Regions from separate parts of the Homo sapiens genome. Here region 1 is linked to region 2. The links are contacts of gene promoters, found by promoter capture Hi-C in human tissues and cell types (Jung and others, 2019). All regions are on one chromosome and are shown on one strand. The core of a region is centred on a gene start or on the middle of the fragment in contact, and the rest is flanking DNA. Distances in the headings are between cores, read along the strand shown.

The links. Contacts are between HindIII fragments. The study calls those that stand out against the background at their distance.
Region 1: a contact is called between a fragment that was not itself captured here and the fragment with the promoter of MYO15A in region 2, in 1 of the 25 tissues and cell types used here (thymus).

What each region holds. Positions count from the first base shown.
Region 1 is chr17:18,048,452-18,054,460 of GRCh38, reverse strand. It overlaps GID4 (GID complex subunit 4 homolog), which reads right to left. Exons shown (of 6, transcript NM_024052.5): 3 at 227-334. Among named protein-coding and RNA genes, the nearest start is that of GID4, 12 kb to the right of the region's middle. The HindIII fragment of the contact is 5,660 bases long and covers 1-5,214 here.
Region 2 is chr17:18,106,736-18,113,284 of GRCh38, reverse strand. It overlaps MYO15A (myosin XVA), which reads right to left and starts at 4,529. Exons shown (of 66, transcript NM_016239.4): 1 at 4,461-4,529. DRG2 (developmentally regulated GTP binding protein 2) reads right to left here. Exons shown (of 13, transcript NM_001388.5): 13 at 5,316-6,131. The coding sequence ends at 6,045. It overlaps LOC105371566 (a long non-coding RNA gene), which reads left to right. Exons shown (of 3, transcript NR_164159.1): 2 at 2,207-2,433; 3 at 4,650-5,594. RefSeq lists an enhancer at 5,586-6,233. The HindIII fragment of the contact is 16,274 bases long and covers 1-6,549 here.

The sequences.
Region 1 (6,009 bases), core at 1,135-3,634, 57 kb after region 2:
GGTTGCTATCATCAGACAACCATTTGCTATTTAAGCAGCAGGTCAGATCGTATTTAAACTGTCCTCATAAGGAAGATGGAACAACTGAGGTCTGTGTGCAGTGCAACCTTTTACTTGGTTGCAAAGCCCCAGTAATCCTCAATAAGGGACAAGGTCTCTGGCTCCCAGCATTTCTTCAATTCTCTAGCAGCCCCTAGATGACCCAGCACAGATCAGATTTACTCACCCAGTGTTTCCGATCAACATCTTCATCTGCATCCCACTTGCGAGTTAAGAAAGGGTGTTTTTTGCTGATTATTTCTCCTTCGAAGAAGGTTGTAAGGGTTGGATACTCCTATGGTAAAAACCCAAATATCAAAATAAGATGTTGAGTGAGAGTTTTTAACCTTTGTACAAAGGAAAAATAAACTTTGCTTTAACTTCTTTCCAGTACCTAGACACTGCTACCTGACAATCCAAACCAGAGTTAGATCGCAGCCAGTTTGCCAACAGGCTGTGGCAATGGACCTGAATCTAAATCACCCAGAGAATGAAGGGTTTCCTGGATTTTGCCAGCAGCAGACAGCCCTTCTTTGACTTCAATTGTTACATGCTAGTCTCTTAGAAAATAATTTGGATGTTTCCACAAATAAATTTTTAATATTCTAGCATACAAAGCAGATCATAACTTGGTAGATTTTACTTTCCAAGGTTAGACCCAAAGAGGCTCCAAAATCACTGTGTCTACCACTAAGGCTCCCTCAAGCCACTGGTTCTCCAACTGGCTCAGTCATTTGTCCCTTTTACACCAATTCTCCAAGGTTCCAGGGTGGATTCTGGGGTAGAATACTTTTTTATTTTTCCTGAGACAGAGTCTTGCTCTGTCGCCCAGGCTGGAGTGCAATGGCACAATTTCGGTTCACTGCAACCTCCTCCCACACCCTGGGTTTATGTGATTCTCCTACCTCAGCCTCCCGAGTAGTTGGGATTACAGTTGGCTGCCACCACGCCCACCTAATGTTTGTATTTTTAGTAGAGACGGGGTTTCGCCATGTTGGCCAGGCTGGTCTCGAACTCCTGACCTCAGGTGATCCACCCGCCTTGGCCTCCCAAAGTGCGAGGATTACAGGTGTGAGCCACCGCACCCAGCCTAAAATACCTTTTATTTTGGCCAGGCATGGTGGCTCACGCCTGTAATCCCAGCACTTTGGGAGGCCGAGGTGGGAGGATCACCTGAGGTCAGGAGTTCAAGACCAACCTGACCAACATGGAGAAACCTCATCTCTACTAAAAATACAAAATTAGCCGGGCGTGGTGGCGCATGCCTGTAATCCCACCTACTCGGGAGGCTGAGGCAGGAGATTGCTTGAACCTGGAGGCGGAGTTTGCAGTAAGCCGAGATCACGCCATTGCACTCCAGCCTGGGCAATAAGAGTGAAACTCTGTCTCAAAAAAAAAAAAAAAAAAAAAAAGTAAATACTTTTTTCAGTGTTCTACATGTTCAGAGAAACTTCTAGTAATGAACTATACAAATGGTCCCTGAAGGTAGTCTTAGAATACCTTGATACATAGGGATACGTTTAATTCTGTCACATGAACTAAGAACAACTTATATGAGGAAAAACATATGAACTAAAAACAATTTATATGAGGAAAAACATATGTAAATCATGTCTGAATGTAAAAACCACACCGTGGAAAACGTAAGCAAGAAGCCATGTGCTGGCTTGGGTGCTTTGTTAATTGCTCTTTGTTCATGTGTTAATAAGTAGGCACCAATGATTTTAAAAAAGATTAATAAGACAAAAAGTTAACACCGTAAAAAGTCTACATTTCTCTGCATTTGTAGAAACCAACCAAGCACCCACCTCTCAGGCTACCTTGCCAAGCCCCTGGTGTCTGCCAGGAGCATGGTTATGAGAGTCACTGGCCTGGAAAACCACAGATTACAGTCCTAACATCAAGGACTGCAGAAGGCCCACGTTTTTCCTTCAGATCAGATGTAAGCCCCTCTTATTCTGCATCAAAAACCTCATTCTGATGGCTTTGCCACATCTACCAACCTGGCCTGCATGTAGTGTAGGACCTTCCTGAGAGAGGCTGCCACAGTAAAAGCCACTGGTGCAGAGGCTCCCAGGAAACAGAACGTCACCACCGCTGCAGGTGGCTCAGGAGGCCTGCTTTAGGATGACACCATGGAGGGGATCTGTTTCCTTAACAGTGAACTTAAAATATGATAAATCTAATACTGCCCCAAACCCACAACCCCCCTATCCTAACACTGTTGCTGGATTCTTCACATAAATATTTAAATACATAGACTGAAAAAATGAGAGAGGAGAAATTTTCCTAAATGTAAACCTAATTTTTAAGGTATAAGCTAACTTTTTTTTTTTTTTTTGGGGGGAGGGACAGAGTCTTGCTCTGTCGCCCAGACCGGAATGCAGTGGCACGATCTCGGCTCACTGCAACCTCTGCCTCCCGGGTTCAGGTGATTCTCCTGCCTCAGCCTCCCAAGTAGCTGGGATTACAGATGCATGCCACCACGCCTGTCTAATTTTTTGTATTTTTAGTAGAGACAGGGTTTCATGGTGTTAGCCAGGACGGTCTTGATCTCCTGACCTCATGATCCACCCGCCTCGGCCTCCCAAAGTGCTGGGATTACAGGCGTGAGCCACCGCACCCAGCCGGTATAAACTAACTTTTAATTATAATCTGTTCTAGGAAAGACTACTAAGGAAAAAAGTTCTCAATAAATCAGCACCTGCATTTGAGATTTTAAACTAGAAGCTATTTTTTTTTTTTTTGAGATGGAGTCTCGCTCTGTCGCCCAGGCTGGTGTGCAGTGGTACAACCTTGGCTCACTGCAACCTCCGCCTCCCGGGTTCAAGCAATTCTCTGTCTCAGCCTCCCGAGTAGCTGGGATTACAGGTATCCACCACCACGTGTGGCTAATTTTTGTATTTTCAGTAGAGACGGGTTTCACCATCTTGGCCAGGCTGGTCTTGAACTCCTAACCTCGTGATCCACCTGCCTCGGCCTCCCAAAGTGCTGGGATTACAGGCATCAGCCAACTACAAACTGTTTATATTATTTTTCCGAGTTTCAAGCTTTAATCTTTTTTCTGAACTTCCTTGAAAGGGATAGGATGAAATGATAAAGAGGTTTTAATACAAGGCCAAGCCTGGTGGCTCACACCTGTAATGCCAGCACTCTAGGGGGCCAAGACAGGAGGATCACTTGAGCCTAGGAGATCAAGATCAGCTTGGGCAACATAGTAAGACCCGGTCTCTATTTTTAAAAAAGGGAGGGGTGGGGAGGAGGTCCTAATATGATTAAAACACTTATGGTTTAAATCACTAGTTTTCTTAATGAATAATTCTGCATTGACTTCTTTGTAAACATACTTTAGGCAGTATATCAGGGTAACTACAGGGTACCCTCAAACTTTGAGAATTAAATAAAATAAATACCTAATAAATGAGATTCAGTGTGTACAGAAGTCACTGAAAAGATAAAATATTCTCAGAGCAGGAACAGGAAATTCAAGCACTTTATTACAGCCCAATGAGGGGTAATTTATAGAGCGGACGAAAAACCATGTCAGAAGAAAGGATATCGAGAAATGAATAACAGAGGCAGCAAAAGCAGGAGTGGGCATCCCTTGGTGGGTCTGGCTGTTGTCAGACATTTAAGTCCCCCAACTAATCCTCCCACTGATTCCAGGCTCACCCAAAACTGTGTGGTGATAGGTACCACGACTTTCCATGTAGACCTGTCTTCTGGAGGATTAACATTCAATTGGCCAATAAGTCAACAGGAACTTCTGGAACATACAGGAATCTCATTCTCTGACAAAAACTGGCACTTTTGTTTTTGTGAGTTTTGGTAGGTGTGACCTGTCTCCCTAGTTAAGCACAAGTCTAGCACAACTTCAGCTGGAGCTTCCAACCCTTCCAAACCCAAGTAATGAGTAAGTGGGGGGCCTGCCCATGGCCCCCAAAGGCTGGGCTCCCAGGTAACCCCTGAAAGCTGCTGGGTTCCCCGGAAAGGTCGCCTCTCTTGACTGACGGATGGCTCAAAAGTGCAAAAAGAATGTTATTTCATATTTATTCTTTACATTTCTAGAATTTCACTTCCAGAAGGCATGAAAACAAACTTTAAAGCTCCGTTTTGCAATGTGGCAATTCCTCAAAGAGTTAAAAACAGAACTATCATTCGACCCAGCAATCCCATTATTGGGTATACACCCAGAGGAGTATAAATCATTCTACTATAAAGATACATGCATGCAAATGTTCACTGTAGCACTATTCACAATAGTAAAAAGTGGGTCAACCTAAATGCCCATCAATGACAGATTGGATAAAGAAAACGTGGTATATATACACCAAGGAATACTATGAAGCCATAAAAAGAAATGAGATCATGTCTTTTGCGTGAACACGGGTAGAGCTAGAGGCCGTTATCCTTAGCAAACTAATGCAGGAACAGAAAACCAAATACTGCCCTTATAAGTAGGAGCTAAATGATGAGAACTCATGGGCTCAAAGAAGGAAACAATAGGCTCAAGCCTGTAATCCCAGCACTTTGGGAGGCTGAGGCAGGCAAATCACCTGAGGTCAAGAGTTCAAGACCAGCCTAGCCAACATGGTGAAACCCCATCTCTACCAAAAGTACAAAAAAAAATTTAGCCTGGTGTGGTGGTACATGCTACCTGGGAAGCTGAGCAGGAGAACTGCTTGAACCTGGGAGGCAGAGGTTGCAGTGAGCAGATATTGCACCACTGCACTCAAGCCTGGGCAACAGAGCGAGACTTCATCTCAAAAAAAAAAAGAAGGGAAGAACAGACAATGGGGCCTACTTGAGGGTAGAGGGTAGGAGAAGGGAGAGGAGCAGAAGAAATAACTATTCAGTACTAGGCTTAATACCTGGGTGACAAAATAATCTCCACAACAGTTACATAGGTAAACCGTGACATAAGTTTATCTATAGATCAAACCTGCGCATGTACACCCAAGCCTAAAATAAAAATTAAAACAAACAAACAAAAAAGCTGTGCTTGTTTGTGAATGTGAGGTAGCTAAGAGGCCATTTAGCTCCTTTTTTTTTTTTTTGACACTTATCTCCTTTTTTTTTTTTTTTTGACACGAAGTCTCACTCTGTTGCCGAGGTTGGAGTCCAGTGGCATGATCTGAACTCACCACAAACTCTGCCTCCTGGGTTCAAGCGATTCTCTTGCCTCAGCCTCCTGAGTAGCTGGGATTACAGGTGCCCGCCACCATGTCCAGCTAATTTTTGTATTTTTAGTAGAGATGGGGTTTCACCATGTTGTCCAAGCTGGTCTCAAACTCCTGACCTCAGGCGATCCAGCTGCCTCAGCCTCCCAAAGTGCTGGGATTACAGGCATGAGCCACTGTGCCTGGCCTATCTCCATTTTAGTAGATACTTTTCCATACTGTATACGTGAGGAAGGCAACTACTATGACTAAAACCCAAATTATAGTTTAATTAAAATAAATTAAAAATTTGATATTTTTGCCAGGCACGGTGGCTCATGCTTGTAGTCCCAGCACTTTGGGAGGCCAAGGTGGGTGGTTCATCTGAGGTCAGGAGTTCAAGACCAGCCTGGCCAACATGGTAAAACCCCATTTCTACTAAAAATATAAAAATTAGCCAGGTGTGGTGGCACATGCCTGTAATTCCAGCTACTCGGGAGGCTGAGGCATGGGAATTGCTTGAACCTGGGAGGTGGAAGTTGCAGTGAGCTGAGATCACACAACTGCACTCCAGCCCGGGTGACAGAGCAAGACTCTTCCTCAAAAACAAAAAATAAAAATAAAAAATTGATATTTTAACAAACATAAATGGAAAAGAAAAAAAACCCAAATACAGGTACAAAATTTATTCAAAGATTCATTGTAGTTTTCTGCATTTTACTATTATCTACGGCAACCATATACTAGACTTATAATTTTAAAAGTTATCAGGCTGGGTGCGTTGGCTCACGCCTGTAATCCCAACACTTTG
Region 2 (6,549 bases), core at 3,280-5,779:
AGCTACTCAGGAGGCTGAAGTGGGAGGATCGCTTGAGCCAGGATTTTGAGGCTGCAGTGAGTTGTGATCATGCCACTGCACTCCAGCCTCTGACACAGAGCAAGACTCTGTGTCAAAACAAACAAAAGAAATACAGCGCCAGGTGTGGTGGCTCACACCTGTAATCCTAGCACTTTGAGAGGCCAAGGTAGGCTGATTACCTGAGCTCAGGAGTTCGAGACCAGCCTGGGCAACACGGTGAAACCCCATCTCTACTAAAATACAAAAAAATTAGCTGGGTGTAGCAGCGTGTGCCTGTAGTCCTAGCTACTTGGGAGGCTGAGGCAGGAGAATTTCTTGAACCCGGGAGGCAGAGGTTGCAGTGAGCTGAGATCATGCTACTGCACTCCGGTCCAGGTGACAGAGTGAGACTCCGTTTCAAAAAAAAATAATAATAATACAGCAAAAGATACATAAGAAATTAATGAGAATAGTTATCTCACTGTAAATCTTTCTATATTAGTTTGATTTTTATCCATATGAATGCATTTCTGAGTCAAAAACCAAAAAAAATGTAACATTTAAAAGTGTAAATGTGGGCTAGGTGCGCTGGCTCACACCTGTAGTCCCAGCACTTCGGGAGGCCGAGGCAGGTGGATCACTCGAAGCTAGGAGTTCAAGACCAGCCCAGACAATATGGCAAAACCCTGTCTCTACTAAAAATACAAAAATCAGCCGAACATGGTGGTGCACACCTGTAATCCCAGCTACAGATATGCACAGTGTGGTGGCTGAGGCAGAAGAATCACTTGAACTCAGGATGTGGAGGTTGCAGTGAGCCAAGATTGCACCACTGCAATCCAGCCTGTGTGACGGTGCGAGACCCTGTCCCCCACGACCCCCCAAAAAAGTGTATATGTGAAAATGGAAAAAAAAAGGGATTGGAGACTGAGTGGAAACACCACTTTAGAGGGGCTCTCAGGAAGAATGTCAGGGACCTGAGATGTCACAGGTCCAACCCCACCCCCACCCCAGTGTCATGTAACATTTGTTACATTTGTTGAAAGTGAAGCAGAGAGAGGTCAGAGACTTGCTGGGGAGAAGCAGGGCAGGGCTGGCCCTTCAGGCCCAAGAGCACCTCCCAGAGCCATACCTTCTGTCTGCCCCAAGTAGGGGAGCCTTGTCTGTCTGTCCAGAAGAAAGGCTGAGAGGCCACCATTCTCTAGCGGGCTTGCCCAAGTCCTGCCTCAAAGCCTCAGGCAGGCATCTTTCCACTGCAAAGCCCCATTGTCCAGATGAAGAACCTGCCTCTCAGAGAGGCAAGCCCAGCTCTAGCCCAGGGGACGTGGAGCCCAGTGGCTCAGAGCTCTGGGTCAGGTCTCATTCCTCTCCTGGATCTGACCCATAGCAAGTCATGCAGCCTCAGCGTTGGAGTCTCCTCATCTGTGAGTGTAGATGCCTCCCTTACCAGGGCTGACCTGGGCATTACATGAGATAGCGGAGAGCTGGGCACAGTGGCTGGCCTGGGCAAGCAGCTGTTGTTATGACTGCCAACGTCATTGCTACAGGCTGCTGCCTGTCTGCTCTGAGTGAGGAGGTCTGGGTGACTGCTGGCAGCAAGTCCTGCCCACCTGATCCCTCCTGGTCTCTGGGTCCCAGGCTTGACCTCAGGATAGTAGTCAGCTGAGGCTGCCCCTTCTCTGGTAGGTTCCAGGTCCTGCCTTCCTCTCAGGGTCCCCATCCTCTGTGCAGGCACAGAGCGGGTGTCAGGGAGCAAGTCTCTCATTCATTCATTCCTTAAATATTACTTGTGCATTAGTTGTGCATCTATTATGTGCCAAGCACTGTGCAGGGCACTTGGGGTTCGCAGAGTTAAGTGGAACCAGACATGATCTCTGCTCTCATGGAGCTCCCTGTGTTGTAGGGGACACAGACTTTGTTTTTTTTTTTTTTTTTTTTTTTTTCTCTTTTGAGACAGGCTCTGGTTCCATCACTCAGGCTGGAGTGCAGTAACATAATCACAGCTCACTGCAGCCTCAAGCTCCCAGGCTCAAGCAATCCTCCCACCTCAGCTGCCCAAGCAGCTGAGACTACAGAGGTGGGCTACCACACCTGGCTAATGTTTTTTTGTAGAGACAGGGTCCCACTATGTTGCCCAGGATGGTCTTGAACTCCTTGCCCCCGGGCAATATTCCTGCCTCAGCCTCCCAAAGTGTTGGGTTTACAGGTATGATCCACTGTGCCCATCCTGGATGCAGACTTTAAGCAGAGTCACATCAACAAGAAGAGCTGTGAAGGTCAGGGCATGACCCACAGATGCCCAAACACTGCACTGGAGGTCCAGGAAGATTCTGCTGACAACGCAACCCTGAGCCAAGATCTGAAGGATAAGAGGGAGCTTATAACATGGAAGAAGGAACAGTATTCCTGGCAAGTGGAACAGCATGTGCAAAGGTCAGGTGGTAAGAGGGGCTTCAAGGACAGTCCTATGGCTGGAGCAGAGTGATTGAGGGCATGTGAAATGAGAGGTGGCCAGGGTGGCAGGCAGGGACTAGCCCAATGGCCGTGAAAGGGATGGGACTTTGGTCACTGTTTCGCATTTCCAGATGTTTACTATGTGCCAGGCTTGGTACTAAATGCTTTTCTGGAATATCTCACTAGATTCTCACATAGATGAAGGGCTTGATCTTAGAGAGGTTAGATCCCTCAGCCGAGAGCCCACAGTGAGGAAGCCATGGGGCCTGTGTCCCTGACTGCAAGACCTGTGCTCAGAACGGCCAGGCCACACAGACCTCAACTCTCACTACAACCTCCTGAAGTCGGTGTGGTTACTCTTCCCACTTTACAGATGAGGACATGGGCCCAGAGAGGTTATGTGAGTGACACAGCTTGAAGGTGGAGTTAAGCCTGGGCAGTCTGGCTTCAGAGTGTCCACAGTCTCAACCACTGCCTCACATGGCTTCTTAGAAAATATTATAAAAAGAAGCTCGGGCTGCCATGTGGAAAAGAATGGAGAGGGGACAATGACACAGCTGGGAGCATGCTGTGATGGTGTACAGCGGACACATTCAGGATGAGGTGAAACAGGCTGGCCCTGGTGAGAGGCTAGATGGGGCTGGGATGAGGGTGGAGACAAGTAGTCTTGGGGTTGGCTTGGTGCAGCTGGGGGGTGCGGGGAGTGTCTCTGAGGTGAGGCCGGGGGTATGGGAACGCCATGTTTGGTCTGGGACACGGTGGGCTTGGGATGGCTACAGGACAGTGCAGTGGAGAGTCAAAAAGGCTGCTCGGACCCAGGTCTGGCGAGATGGAAGCTGGAGGTCAGGTGAGCTGTCTAGGAGAGGGACAGAGTGGGAAGGAGAGGGTCTCGACTCGGCTTTCTTGCCAAAGGAGGGTTCCGAAATGAGAAACTGTGGAATCTAAGCTGGAGAGGAAGAAAGACGGAGAATGAGTGAACGCACACGTGTGGGACAGATAGATGAATATTCATGTCTTTGGCTCCTATGTACCTGAGTCTTCTAAAGCTGCAGGCCATACTACCCCCGGGAGGCTGCAGGGATGCCAGCTGGGAGATGAATGCAACTCTGCTGCCTGGGCATGGGCCTGAGTGAGGGTGCAGACCCCTGCCTGTGATCATCAGGGAGGGTGATGAGAACAAGGTGGCTGACAGGGTGAGGCCCAAGCCTGGAGCTTACCCAGGTGCGGGGATGGGAGGGTCAGAGACCTTTGGGGGGTCTTAGGGAGCTTCCCCAGCCCTAAAGGCACCGCAAGCTGCCACTTCACACTGACCTGGGCATACGCAGCTGCAGGATCCCTTGCTCGCTCTCTCACAAGCAAATGTAGACTGCGCAACCATCCTGACCACAGATCCAGAAAGCCCAGGACATAACAGAGCCGCAGTGCCTGCCCTGATCCACGCGCACACAGATCTAGCCCAGGAACAAGCCCATCCACGGTGAGGAACTTGTGGCCCAGTGGCTGGAGCCTCTCACCTGAGCCCTCACTGCCTGAGGACCCCCAGCCTCTGGCCTCATTTCCCACCCTTTGCCAGCCAGCCTTGGGGACAAAACAGGTCTGGATCTAATCCAAGGTCTGGACTCACCCTGACACCCTGTGAACTCAAGGCCTTCCCTACCTCACCCTGGGCCCAGAGCCCCTACCTGTAAAGTGGAAGTGGGAATGGCCACCAGCCAGGCAGAAACCCTCACTTAGGGCCTCATGGCCAGGCATCAGGACAGTCAGGAGAGGGGCCGAGGTAAGCCACAGAGGCCCTGCCTGTCTTGGTATCCCACCATCGCCAGGAGGGGACTGCATGGGCATCACACCCCTCACAGATGAACAAAGTGAGGCAGAGAAGGGCCTCAAGATGAGTTAGGGGCGAGGCCCCAGCTCTGCTGCTGCCCCTTCCCTTATCACCCCTGCAGCCTGGGATGCGAGGGTGGCCAGTGACAGACCCCAAGGACTCTAGGCTAAGGTCTCCTTACCTGCGTTCTGTGGCCTGCTCCCCGCCTGCATGCCGCCTCATGGGGGTCCTCTGGCTGGCCCAGGAGCACGGTTGGCCCAGCAGAGCAGCTCAGTGTTATGGGGAAGGGAGGCCCAGCCCACCACGCCGACCGCCTGGGGCCCTATGTATATTTAATGATGTCTATTATTCCTGTTTTGTCTCTGGAAAGGAGTGAGCAGCTGACAGGGGAGCCACGAACAGCCTGGAGAGCTGAGCATGGGCCTGCTCCACACTCCAGCGGGGCCCGAGGCCCCCGGGAACTCTACCCCTCCTGGCAGCCTCACAGAACCTGCTGCATCCATCTCAAAAGGCATACCTCCTCCAGGAAGCCTTCCCCGCTGCTCAGAGGTCTTAAATCCGGGGTCTGCACTCACAAACTGTGCAGCCTACACCAGCTTCTGGGGGACAGCAGAACACTGTGGGGGGCCTGGCACAGTCCCTGGCACACGGTAGGCACTCATCGAGCCCCTGCCAGCCCCTCTACTCCTGACTTCTGAGGCAACAGGAAATGACCCGCCACCTTGTTCTCACAGAGCCTCCCTGCCAGCCCAGATGGTCACAAGGGCCTCCTGGGATGCTGCCCACCTTGGCAGCCAGGCCCCTCCGGAGGGGCCAGTCTGGGCCTGACACCCCCGAACACCAACCCCCTGGGCAGAGCCTGCCTGTGCCTGGGTGAGGAACCCTGCAGTCTCCTTGCCACACAAGGCCTGGGTCTGCCTTGGGGCCCAGGCTGCACCCTCTCCGACCCCCAGGCCCAATGTCTGACCTGTGCCCACCTGACTCAACCTGGCTACTGTTCAGCAAGTTTACAAAGTGTTCTCAGTCTGAACAGGAACCGTTTTCAATCCTTTATTTCAGAAAGGAGAGCCAGGAGAACTGGGGACTTAGAAAATACAGATCCTAAACTCAAAAGTCCCTGCCCCAGGCGTGCAGAGCCAGGGTCCTGGGGTTTTGTGCTGGGCAGGGGCTGCCCTGGGAGGGGGAATACAGGGGGAGGCACTTTAGGACACCCCTTAGGCTGTGGAGGGTGTCAGCTGGGCCTTTGAAGCCACTAACCACTGGTTCCCATCATGGAGAGCCCTGTGTGGGGCACCCAAGGGGGTTTCCTCCTGGAAGGGCCCCCAACCCAAGTGTCAGAGAAGCTGGCAAGAGCTGAGGGAGTGAGGTGCCATGACAGCAGCCACAGCCTCCAGGGACCCAAACAGGCCCAGCTACCAGCCTGGCACTGAGCATGCCATCTGCTTTAGGCCCTGGCTGGCGGGCATGTGGGCAACTTGCTCCCTCAGTGCAGGGGGCTGGGAGGCACAGATGCAGGCTCAGCACTACAAACTCAAAACCCCCATGAGAGGGCTCAGTCTTATGGGAAATGCCTCCAACCGAGCCCCTTTGCCCCAACACACTCTTCGTCTGCCTACTGAAGAAACTTCTGTAAATAGCAGAGACTTGAGGGACCCCTTCCTGGGGTACGTGTATTTGTATTTTTCTGTTTGGGTGTTTGTGTGTCCCAGTGGGACCACCTCCCCAGGGAGACGAGGCAGGTGGGCGGGAGGCCCGGCAGGCGCCGTTACTTCTTCACGATCTGGATGACGTCCTCATGCTCCATGGTGTGGGTCAGGCCCACCCGCTGCGGACTGTACTTGGTGCTGGTGCCCTGGGTGAGGAATGGGGGCAGAGGGGTCACCTCAGCCTGGACTGGCCAAGGTCAAGGAAGATATCCCTGGGCGTGTGTGTCCTGAAGGGTAAATGCCATGGCATAAGGTGGGGGCCTCAGGCAGCAGGATGTCCGCAGTTGTCTGACCATCCCTGATCTCAAAGGTTGGGGAGGGCCAGGCACAGTGGCTAATGCCTGTAATCCCAGCACTTCTGGAGGTCAAGGTGGGAGGATCACTTGAGCTCAGGTGTTTGAGACAGCCTGGGCCAGATAGCGAAACCTTGTCTCCATGAAAAATTAGCCAGGCATGGTGGTGTGTGCCTGTAGTCCCAGCTACTTGTGATGCTGAGGTGGGAGGATCGCTTTTGCACAGATGTCGAGGCTGCACTGGGCCATGATCGTGCCACTGCACTCCAGC